Regions from separate parts of the Homo sapiens genome. Here all the other regions are linked to region 2. Evidence: promoter capture Hi-C in human tissues and cell types (Jung and others, 2019). All regions are on one chromosome and are shown on one strand. Each heading gives the region's core, a stretch centred on a gene start or on the middle of the fragment in contact. The rest is flanking DNA. Distances are from core to core; before and after follow the strand shown. Region 1 overlaps LOC107985544 (a long non-coding RNA gene). Region 2 holds the start of PLA2G3 (phospholipase A2 group III). Region 3 overlaps MORC2 (MORC family CW-type zinc finger 2). Region 4 overlaps PIK3IP1 (phosphoinositide-3-kinase interacting protein 1).

Evidence for each region. The method cuts DNA at HindIII sites, captures the fragments that hold promoters and counts their contacts. A contact is called where the count stands out against the background at its distance.
Region 1: a contact is called between a fragment that was not itself captured here and the fragment with the promoter of PLA2G3 in region 2, in 1 of the 25 tissues and cell types used here (thymus).
Region 3: a contact is called between a fragment that was not itself captured here and the fragment with the promoter of PLA2G3 in region 2, in 1 of the 25 tissues and cell types used here (lymphoblastoid cells).
Region 4: a contact is called between a fragment that was not itself captured here and the fragment with the promoter of PLA2G3 in region 2, in 1 of the 25 tissues and cell types used here (lymphoblastoid cells).

What each region holds. Positions count from the first base shown.
Region 1 is chr22:30,910,425-30,913,124 of GRCh38, reverse strand. LOC107985544 (a long non-coding RNA gene) reads left to right here. Exons shown (of 3, transcript NR_146603.1): 2 at 1,694-1,827. Among named protein-coding and RNA genes, the nearest start is that of MORC2-AS1, 11 kb to the left of the region's middle. The HindIII fragment of the contact is 5,460 bases long and covers 1-2,700 here.
Region 2 is chr22:31,139,210-31,141,909 of GRCh38, reverse strand. PLA2G3 (phospholipase A2 group III) reads left to right here and starts at 1,402. Exons shown (of 7, transcript NM_015715.5): 1 at 1,402-2,069. The coding sequence starts at 1,556. RefSeq lists enhancers at 780-1,339, 1,340-1,898. The HindIII fragment of the contact is 19,816 bases long and covers 1-2,700 here.
Region 3 is chr22:30,927,714-30,930,413 of GRCh38, reverse strand. It overlaps MORC2 (MORC family CW-type zinc finger 2), which reads left to right. Exons shown (of 26, transcript NM_001303256.3): 25 at 2,207-2,395. Among named protein-coding and RNA genes, the nearest start is that of MORC2-AS1, 6.8 kb to the right of the region's middle. The HindIII fragment of the contact is 7,715 bases long and covers 1-2,700 here.
Region 4 is chr22:31,280,847-31,283,546 of GRCh38, reverse strand. PIK3IP1 (phosphoinositide-3-kinase interacting protein 1) reads left to right here. Exons shown (of 6, transcript NM_052880.5): 6 at 259-1,947. The coding sequence ends at 463. Among named protein-coding and RNA genes, the nearest start is that of PIK3IP1, 10 kb to the left of the region's middle. The HindIII fragment of the contact is 3,713 bases long and covers 1-2,700 here.

The DNA of each region.
Region 1 (2,700 bases), core at 120-2,619, 230 kb after region 2:
CATTTTCTTACTCAAATTGGATGTTTAAAAATTTTTTAGTCTTTTACATGAGTCTTAAATGTTGTAAATTTTCCTCAAGGTACTGCTTTACCTGTATTCTGTATGTTTTAATATATAGTTTTTTTTAACTGTATTTTCTGATTTCTGTTGTTTTCTTCATTGACCTATGAGTTATTTCAAAATATATTTCTTAATGTTCTAGCCTGTATTTTCCTCCCAGTTTTATTTTTGTCATTGATTTTGAACTGTCTTCATTGCAGTCTGAGAATGTGGTCCTTTGAAATTTGCTGAGGCCTTATGACTGGATTAAATATATGGTTAATGTTCATAAAAGTTCCATGTGCATTTCAAAAATATGTATTCTGCAGTCACATTTAATTCCCTATATGTGTCCATGACATCAAGTTTGTTAATTACATAGTAATTAACATAATTTGTTGTCTGAGCTCTAATTACTGGGAGAAATAAATTACAATCTTCCATTATGATAGTGGATTTATCTTTATCCATTTTACTTTATACATTTTGAGATGTTATTAGGTGCATAAGAGTTTTAGAAATTTATGAGTTTTACCTTCTATCACTACAAAATGACCTTAAAATTCTAGTAGTTGACATCTAGTAATATTTTTTGCCCTAGAGTCTGTTTAGTTTATATATTTATGTTTTAGGTGTATTCTTGTAAATAGCATATAGCTGGATTTTATTTTTAGTCCATATTTTTTTCTTTGAAGCATTTAGATTACTTAAATTTTATGTAATTACTGATGTATTATTGATGTATTTGTATTCTCTTATTTGTGATTTTTATTCTACATTCTTTTTTCCTCTCCTCTCTTGCCTTCTTTAGATTTACTGAGCTTTTTCCCCCCTGCATTCAATGTGTTTCTTCTACTGCTTTGGAAATAATTTAGTATTGCTATTCCTTCAATGATTACCTGATAAGTTTTACATAATCTTAACTCATCATAGTCTCACTCCACATGACACTATATATTTTTTTTAAAAAAATTTAATATACTGTTTAATATGCTAAATAAAATTTAGTTATACACACATACACACACACACACACACACACACACACACACACATATATATAGAGAGAGAGATAGAGACAGAGACAGACAGAGACAGGATGATTGTGTAGCTCACTGCAGTCTCGAACTTCTAGGCTCAAGTTATCCTCCCTCCTCAGCCTCCCAAGTAGCTGGGACTACAGGCATATGCCACCATGCCTGGTTAATTATTTTATTTTTGTAGAGATGGAGTCTTGCTATATTGCCCAGGCTGTTCTCAAATTCCTGACCTCAAGTGATCATTCCACCTTGGCCTCCCCAAGTGTTGGGATTATAGGCATAAACCACCACACGTGACCTGTGGAAAAGATATTTTGACTGAGGAGAACACTAACATTTTCTTCTCTATTTTGGAGGTAATACTTCATTGTCTTCTGACTTCCTTTGGAGGCTCTCAGTCTAATCTGTTCTCGGTCTAATTGGCCTTCCTTTGGAGATGAATTTTCAGGATCTCACTCTGTTGCTTGGGCTGGAGTGCAGTGATGTGATCATAGCTCACTGCAGCCTCAAATTCTTGGGCTCAAGCAATCCTCCAGCCTCAGTCTCCTGGGAAGCTAGGACTACAGACACATACCACTTTGCCTAATTTAGTTTTTATTTTTATTTTTTTGTAGAGATGGGGTCTCTTCTGTTTTCCCATGATGGTCTCCAACTGCTGGTCTCAAGTGATCCTTCTGCCTCAGCCTCCCAAAGTGCTGGTATGACAGGTGTGAGCCACTGTACCCAGCCTAATTTATGCTGTTTGAAGGTAATTTAAAAAAATCTGCTTGTAAGATTTTGTTGTCTTAGTAATCTTGCAGTTTCACTATGTTGTATTTAGCTGTGGATATCTTTTTATTTACCATAATTAGGATTTGTTGAGCTTAACTTTGTATATTGGTGCTTTTCATGATTTCTTGAAAAACTTTTAGCCATAACTCTTCCAAGATTGCTTCTGTTCCATAAAAAATTCTTTTCTCCTTCTGAAATAGATCAGACATATGTGGGATCTTATCTTTCATGTCTTAACGTCCCTTTGATATTTTTCACCTCTTTGTGTCTCTGTGTTGTATTCCAAATTTCTTCAGATCTCACTTCTGCTTCACTAATACTCTCTTCAGCTGTGTAATCTGTTGTAAAACTATTCACTGAATTATTTTTAGTGATTTTAAAACATTTTCTTGAAATTTGTTTAGTATTTTTGAATATTTACTCTTCACTTATTTTCAAGCTGCCTTTCTGTTTCTAGAAATATATTAAACATGCTTATTTTCTCTTCTGTATCTGATAATTTTGCTGTGTGGAAGAGTTTTCTGTCTGATTCTGCTATCTGTTATTTCTGGTTGCCCTTGCTCATGGGTGCTTGTTTCCTTGTGTGTTTGGAGATTTTATACTGTGAGCTGCTCATTTTCCCTGCAGTTTCATATCTGAGGTTCTCTAAGGCCTAGAATGAAGGGGATATCTTCCAGAGAGGACTTGTTTGCTTCCCCCAGGTGACTGGGAACATTGCCAACTTCGGACCATGTTACGTTCTCTGTCAGAGGTTTCATTGAGCCATTCAGGTAGTGTGTATTTGGGCTGCAAAACTAACTGAGGGTCCACTCCTGATTACAAATTCTTAGGGGGATTTTGTTTTTCTCTG
Region 2 (2,700 bases), core at 153-2,652:
ATGATGATTTTTCAAACATCACAACTCTTCACAGAAGGACTCACCTTTGTTCAGCTACATCCTTGCCCTTGGGGACCCCAGGTCTACCTCCTCTGCCACCACTCGCTGTATTCCACACCCCCTTTCTCAACCTCTGGCAAGAAGGCGCTTGGTCCCTGGACTAGCCCTACCCTCTTTCCCTTCTCTTCATTGTTCCCAGCTATGATGCTTTGAGCCACAGGCCCAGGCTGGTTCTGAAGCTACAGAGATGGACCTGCCCACCCTGCAGCCCCCTTCCCCCTCTGCCACACAGTGAGCTCTCCTTCCCCAGCTCTGCCCCTGGCTTTACCTCACTGGGGCTCATCCCCTGGAAGAGACTCAGATGGAGCCTGGGGCAGGGGGAGGCTGGAGAAGCAGCAGGCTAATGGGCAGATGGAAGACAGACAAGTCACTGTCCTGGCCAGCCCTGACTCCCATCCAGATCCCCAAGCGCTGCATTCCCATCCTCTAAGCCCTCCCCAGCTGGAGCCTGTCACCTGAGGTTTTCCCACCCTCACTGAGCCTCAGTTTCTTCATCTGCACTATGGGTGTAAGCACCCTGGCCTCACTAGATGGTTGGAAGCTGGGCTTTGGGATCCAGGAACAATACCTGGGTATAGCCCCTTCCTGATGGAGAGATTCCTGTCTCATGAGGCACACATGATGCCTGCTGTGTCCCCCCAGGTGGCCAGGGATGGAGGTGGCCACAGACATACACCCTGGGCCACTCTCTGCCACTCTAGGGACCATAGTTCTTTCAAATCCAGAGCATCAGCCCTGCCCTGTGTGGCTCTCAAGGCCTGTTCCCGCTGCGTCTCCCCCAGTTATCAGACCAGGAGGGTTGCTGCAAGGCCAGGCCCATGCTTGGAGTCCTAGGAAGCGGGGAGCCCTGGGGCTCTGTCCCCTGAGTATGCCGAGAGCCTTTCTAAGAACCAGGACTTGGCAGGGGAGCACCCCAGGTGGCACTCCCTTTCCCAGAAGCCTTGGGAACTCCCAGGGTGGTAGCTTCAGAGCCCCAGCCCTTCCTTCACCCAGCCCTGGCAGAGGCCCATGGCCCCCTGCCAGCCTGATGGAGGTGGATGTGGCAGCCACCGCTGTGGTAAGGGTGAGAAGGGTGGGTTCTAAGGGACTCCTCCAAGCTCCTGAACCCTTTTCCTTCCCTTCAAGGAGATGTGAAAGCCCCAGCCTGGTCCCCATCCCACAGCTTAGGGCTTTGGCTCCCATAGTCCCAATCTAGGCAGGGCTGGCAGCAGGTGACTGGATGGTGCTGAGAAGGCAGGCAGAATGGGGGCGTGGGCCCTGGCAAGTGCACTCCTCAGCCAATCAGCGTCCTGCCCGGCTGGTGGATTCGGTTACAAGCCCAAGATCACCCCATACTCCAGCCTCTTTCCTCCTCCTCCCGCAGCTCCATTCATTGGTCCCGCCGCACCGGGCCTGCTGGGCTCCGCTTCCGTTCCACTGCTCAGCTGCCGCCTGGTGGGGCCACCAAGGGCAGGCATCCCAGGGGCTTTGTCTGACTGGACTGGGCCAGTGCAGAATGGGGGTTCAGGCAGGGCTGTTTGGGATGCTGGGCTTCCTGGGGGTGGCCCTGGGGGGCTCCCCTGCCCTCCGCTGGTACAGGACCTCCTGCCACTTGACCAAGGCCGTCCCTGGCAACCCACTGGGGTACCTGAGCTTCCTGGCCAAGGATGCTCAGGGACTGGCCCTGATCCATGCCCGCTGGGATGCGCATAGGAGGCTGCAGTCATGTAGCTGGGAGGATGAGCCGGAGCTCACCGCAGCCTACGGTGCTCTCTGTGCTCATGAGACTGCCTGGGGCTCCTTCATCCACACCCCCGGACCCGAGCTGCAGAGAGCACTGGCCACTCTTCAGAGTCAGTGGGAGGCATGCCGAGCGCTTGAGGAGAGTCCAGCAGGGGCCAGGAAGAAGCGAGCAGCAGGGCAGAGTGGAGTCCCTGGTGGAGGGCACCAGCGAGAGAAGAGAGGATGGACCATGCCTGGCACACTGTGGTGTGGAGTTGGAGATTCTGCTGGGAACTCCTCGGAGCTGGGTGAGCCATGAGGGGTGTGTGGGCTGGGGGGTCCGATCGGGGAAGCAAGGTTTCTTCAGCCCCAGCCCTTACTCTCCTAGGCTGTGTGTCCCTGGGGGAGTGACTTGACCATGGTGAACCTCAATTTCCTTATCTGTAAAGTGGGGGCAATCACGAATCTCATCATGGGGTGCTTAAATGAGGTCACGGTTGGGGAAAGTCTTATTCAAACCTGGGAGTCCTCATTAAATGCCATCCGAGGGACTGGGCAGGCTGGGGGAGGATCCAGGGTCAACTGAGCCAAAAAGCCATTACCCAGGAGGAGGCTTTGTGGGCACGGGGTGCCCAGTGGAATGGATGCTGAGACGAAAGGCCTGGGTTCAAATCCCAACTCAGCACATACAAGCTGAGCAAGTCACTTCCCCTCTCTGGACTTATTTCCTCACCTGTAAAATGAAGGTGATACCTCCCTTTCAGGGCTGGCTGTGAACCTGGATGTGGGAAGTGCCAGGCATGTGGGAAATGCTTAGTAAAGAGTGCTATTTTTTAGATGGTAATAAACATAGATGAATTTCTTGCACTATCAGTACAGATGTCTGTGCGTTTGTGTGCAGGGTTGGGGGAGGGCTTGGCACCTGAGTCAGAGTAGGTT
Region 3 (2,700 bases), core at 193-2,692, 210 kb after region 2:
AATCACAGCTGCTGCACAGAAAGATCCATGCTTCAACTTTTGTCCTTGTTTAGGCTGCAGGTGCTCTCTGCAAATCCCAGGAGGAACAAGCAGCTAATAGGGTGGCTAGGTTGGCCTGGCATCTTGTCAGATTTGTTGATTTTGGTTTAAGGTTATTGCCAAACTCAGAGTAGAGCCTGGGTGCAGCAGGATCTCTGCAGTGGGCTTGAATGCCTGGGCCCAAACAAAGTGCATGAGTGTCTAAAAATAGTATATTAGGCTGGGTGTGGAGGCTCAGGCCTGTAATCCCAGCACTTTGGGAGGCTGAGGAAGGTGGATCACTTGAGGCCAGGAGTTTGAGACCAGCCTGGCCAATATGGTGAAACCCCATCTCTACTACAACGTACAAAAAATATTAGCCAGATGTTGTGGTGCATGCCTGTAATCCCAGCTACTTGGGAGGCCGAGGCATGAAAATCGCTTGAACCCGGGGAAAGGCAGAGGTTGTAGTAAGCTGAAATTGTGCCACTGGACTCCAGCCTGGGTGACAGAGCGAGACTGTGTCAAAAAAAAAGTATATTAGCTTCTTTTTGTACAAGGAGGTATAATACCAGTGTATCACCTTTGTCCTGCTAATTGTAATGTCTAAAATCACTCAAACTATTTTTTTTTTTGAGACAGAGTCTCGTTCTGTTGCCCAGACTAGAGTGCAGTGGCGCAATCTCGGCTCACTGCCAGCTCTGCCTCCCGGGTTCACACCATTCTCCTGCCTCAGCCTCCTGCCTCAGCCTCCTGAGTAGCTGGGACTACAGGCACCCGCCACCACGCCTGGCTAATTTTTTATATTTTTAGTAGAGATGGGGTTTCACCGTGTTAGCCAGGATGGTCTCGATCTCCTGACCTCGTGATCCACCTGCCTCGGCCTCCCAAAGTGCTGGGATTACAGGTGTGAGGCACCACGCCTGGCCATCACTCAAACTATTTTTTTAGCATCAGGGATAAAACAAAGTCTACTGTTCATTATGTCCTTGTCAGTTACGTCCTTTATACCATATGGATCAGGAGTTCCATAGAGCCTCAGGAGCCCTGCAATATTAAAGTATCATTTTTTCAAAAAAACTAATGTAACAATTATATGTGAATCTACAGTTACCTCAAAATAATTAAGAAAAAATTATTACAAACCATGTCTACTTTCAAGATGTTGTATACTGAATTTTAATACTTTGGAGATTGCTCCAGTATTTATTTTGTGCTGCCAAGGCAATTACTGTTTTGTGTAGAACTAGAAGTTTCTCTTGCTATCTTGGTTTAGTAGGATAAGGTGAATGACACAGTTAAATACTTGCCAGTAACAGTTTTTAAAAATGGCATCTAGAAGCCTCTCCAGGCTAGGCAGCTAATGCATCTTTACAGAAGTAAACACCAGAGTTGATAAGACTGCAGCAGCCAGCTAGCACCTGCTGGTTGTGGCGTGTGTGTTCATCACAGTGGCCTCATGATTCTCAGTGATTTACGAGTAAGTCATGTTATAAATTTGAACTTGGAAAATAAATTGAACCTAAAGAGATACTACTTAACATTGTTTTTCACACTGAGATTCCATGTGACATTTCATTTGAAACAAGTATTCTGCTCCCTTTTATAAGTCTGAAAAGCCACTAGAAAAACTGCTTGTTTCCCTTCCTACCTCTCCCCCTGGAGGTTTCAGGTACTCAGGGAAAATAGTAAAAAGCTCTGATGCTGTAGAAGTATATACTACTCCACAGATCTGGAGATATCTGCTGTTGGTTGGTAGGTGGAAAGAGAACTGACATGAGCGCTGACATTGTTGGGTATGTCTTGGAAGTGGGTGGTTGAAAGGGCTGTACTGAAGTCAGACAGGTTATGATTGAGCATGGAAGAGCGATTCTGTCATCCTTTTTTGTCACTTGGAATGGTAAGAATCGCCCCTCACGCGTCCTCACGGCCTGCTGTCTGCCAGAGCACTGTGCTGAGTGCTTCACCTGTGTGCTAATTGTCTTCTTCCTTGTGGCAGCCCCACAAGATAGGCATTGATGTCTCTCTACTCTGGACGTAAAGAGGCTGTTTGCCCTTTGTATCTAAGATGTTCCTTCAGACCAGGCATCCTTGGGTAAAGCGGGCTGGAGACACCCGTGTCAGCCTAGAAGGGCCCTGGGGACCCCTGTGAACTTACACACTCTCCCTCTTGCTCTGCTCCCAACAGAAGGAGTACTTCAAGCAATATGAAGTAGGGCTCCAAAACCTGTGCAATTCCTACCAGAGCCGTGCTGACTCCCGGGCCAAGGCCTCCGAGGAAAGCCTGCGCACCTCCGAGAGGAAGCTCCGCGAGACGGAGGAGAAGCTGCAGAAGCTGAGGACCAACATCGTGGCACTCCTGCAAAAGGTGCAGGAGGTGAGCCCGGCAGCCTTCCTGTTGCAGCTGGACCACCTGGTCTCTCAGGGAGGGGGGCCTGGGCCCTGTTCCTGTTCTCACAAGAATCTATCCACTCACAGGAATCTATGGTTCTCACCCTGGCTGCACAGCACCCTGGCAGGAGGGCTTGAGATGGTGTGGCTGCCTGGTCCTCAGCCCAGCCAGACCCATAGAACCAGGCTTTTTCCCTTTAGACATTCCGACGTACAACCTGGTTTGAGAACCCTCCAAGCCATAAAAACGAAGTTCTTTTCCACATGACGCCCAGATGGGATTGGGTAGCC
Region 4 (2,700 bases), core at 163-2,662, 140 kb before region 2:
GAAGTCCATACTGCTGTCACCCTATTTTACAGATGGAGAACCTAAGACCAGAGGTGCAGGAGCTTCTTGTTGAGTTTAACGCCGTCTTGCAGAATGGATATCCTAGAATCCTGGACCTGAGTTTGGGTCCTGGCTCAGCCACTGATTTGTTGTGACAATGGCAAGCTGCTGCTCTTGCTGAGCCTCAGGGATGCTATCTAATGAGCAAAGCTATGCAGGAGGCATAGCCTGAATGTTTGTTTGTTTTTTTCCTGCCAGGGGGAAGGATTTGAAAGAACAGCATGATCAGAAAGTATGTGAGAGGGAGATGCAGCGAATCACTCTGCCCTTGTCTGCCTTCACCAACCCCACCTGTGAGATTGTGGATGAGAAGACTGTCGTGGTCCACACCAGCCAGACTCCAGTTGACCCTCAGGAGGGCACCACCCCCCTTATGGGCCAGGCCGGGACTCCTGGGGCCTGAGCCCCCCCAGTGGGCAGGAGCCCATGCAGACACTGGTGCAGGACAGCCCACCCTCCTACAGCTAGGAGGAACTACCACTTTGTGTTCTGGTTAAAACCCTACCACTCCCCCGCTTTTTTGGCGAATCCTAGTAAGAGTGACAGAAGCAGGTGGCCCTGTGGGCTGAGGGTAAGGCTGGGTAGGGTCCTAACAGTGCTCCTTGTCCATCCCTTGGAGCAGATTTTGTCTGTGGATGGAGACAGTGGCAGCTCCCACAGTGATGCTGCTGCTAAGGGCTTCCAAACATTGCCTGCACCCCTGGAACTGAACCAGGGATAGACGGGGAGCTCCCCCAGGCTCCTCTGTGCTTTACTAAGATGGCCTCAGTCTCCACTGTGGGCTTGAGTGGCATACACTGTTATTCATGGTTAAGGTAAAGCAGGTCAAGGGATGGCATTGAAAAAATATATTTAGTTTTTAAAATATTTGGGATGGAACTCCCTACTGACCTCTGAGAACTGGAAACGAGTTTGTACAGAAGTCAGAACTTTGGGTTGGGAATGAGATCTAGGTTGTGGCTGCTGGTATGCTTCAGCTTGCTGGCAATGATGTGCCTTGACAACCGTGGGCCAGGCCTGGGCCCAGGGACTCTTCCTGTTTCATAAGGAAAGGAAGAATTGCACTGAGCATTCCACTTAGGAAGAGGATAGAGAAGGATCTGCTCCGCCTTTGGCCACAGGAGCAGAGGCAGACCTGGGATGCCCCAGTTTCTCTTCAGGGATGGATAGTGACCTGTCTTCATTTTGCACAGGTAAGAGAGTAGTTAGCTAACCTATGGGAATTATACTGTGGGGCCTTGTGAGCTGCTTCTAAGAGGCTAACCTGGAAACTAAGCTCAGAGGCAAGGTAATAAAGCACTTCAGGGCTTGCTCCCCAAGTGGGCCTGATTTAGCAGGTGGTCCTGCGGGCGTCCAGGTCAGCACCTTCCTGTAGGGCACTGGGGCTAGGGTCACAGCCCCTAACTCATAAAGCAATCAAAGAACCATTAGAAAGGGCTCATTAAGCCTTTTGGACACAGGACCCCAGAGAGGAAAAAGTGACTTGCCCAAGGTCGTAAGCAAGCTACTGGCATGGCAAGAGCCCAGCTTCCTGACGGAGCGCAACATTTCTCCACTGCACTGTGCTAGCAGCTCAGCAGGGCCTCTAACCTGTGATGTCACACTCAAGAGGCCTTGGCAGCTCCTAGCCATAGAGCTTCCTTTCCAGAACCCTTCCACTGCCCAATGTGGAGACGGGTTAGTGGGGCTTTCTATGGAGCCATCTGCTTTGGGGACCTAGACCTCAGGTGGTCTCTTGGTGTTAGTGATGCTGGAGAAGAGAATATTACTGGTTTCTACTTTTCTATAAAGGCATTTCTCTATATACATGTTTTATATACCTCATTCTGACACCTGCATATAGTGTGGGAAATTGCTCTGCATTTGACTTAATTAAAAAAAAAAAAAGACTCCACATTGCCAAGTTTTTGAGGGGTAACAGGAACCCTCCGTGTAAGTTGAGAAGCTTTGGGTTACCTTGTCAACACCTATGTGGCAAGCTCTGGGCCTTTTCTTCATTCATCCTCGCCCTGTTACTGGAAAGTGACAACTGCAGCCTGTGTCCAGATTTTTTTTTTTGAGATGGAGTTTGGCTCTTGTTGCACAGGCTGGAGTGCAATGGCATGATCTCGCCTCACTGCAACCTCTGCCTTGTGGGTTCAAGCGATTCTCCTGCCTCAGCCTCCAGAGTAGCTGGGATTACAGGTATGTGCCACCACACCTGGCTAATTTTTGTATTTTTAGTAGAGACGGGGTTTCACCATGTTGGTCAGGCTGTTCTCAAACTCTTGATCTCAGGTGATCCACCTGCTGAGGCCTCCCAAAGTGCTGAGATTACAGGCTAGAGCCACCGTGCCCGGCTTGTGTGTCCAGATTATCATCATCAGGAATCTTTCAGGTTGAAGCAGGAAAGACAGGTGTGCAGGCGTCCCAACAAGGTGGTTGGTCATTGCAAATCCTCTCCCCTTCAGCAATTGTTTCCAAGGTGGAGGTAGTTAAAATGAATATCTAGACAGCCCTTGTTAAAGGCTGGAGTGCGGCAGGGGTTGGGTGGTGGGTGACGGGGGTGGTGCTGCAGCAGCCAAAGGGGGAATAACTGCAGAGGAGGAAGGGTCACTGGGCTGCCTGCAGCAGCCCTGGGCTGAGGAAGTTCCCTGCAAG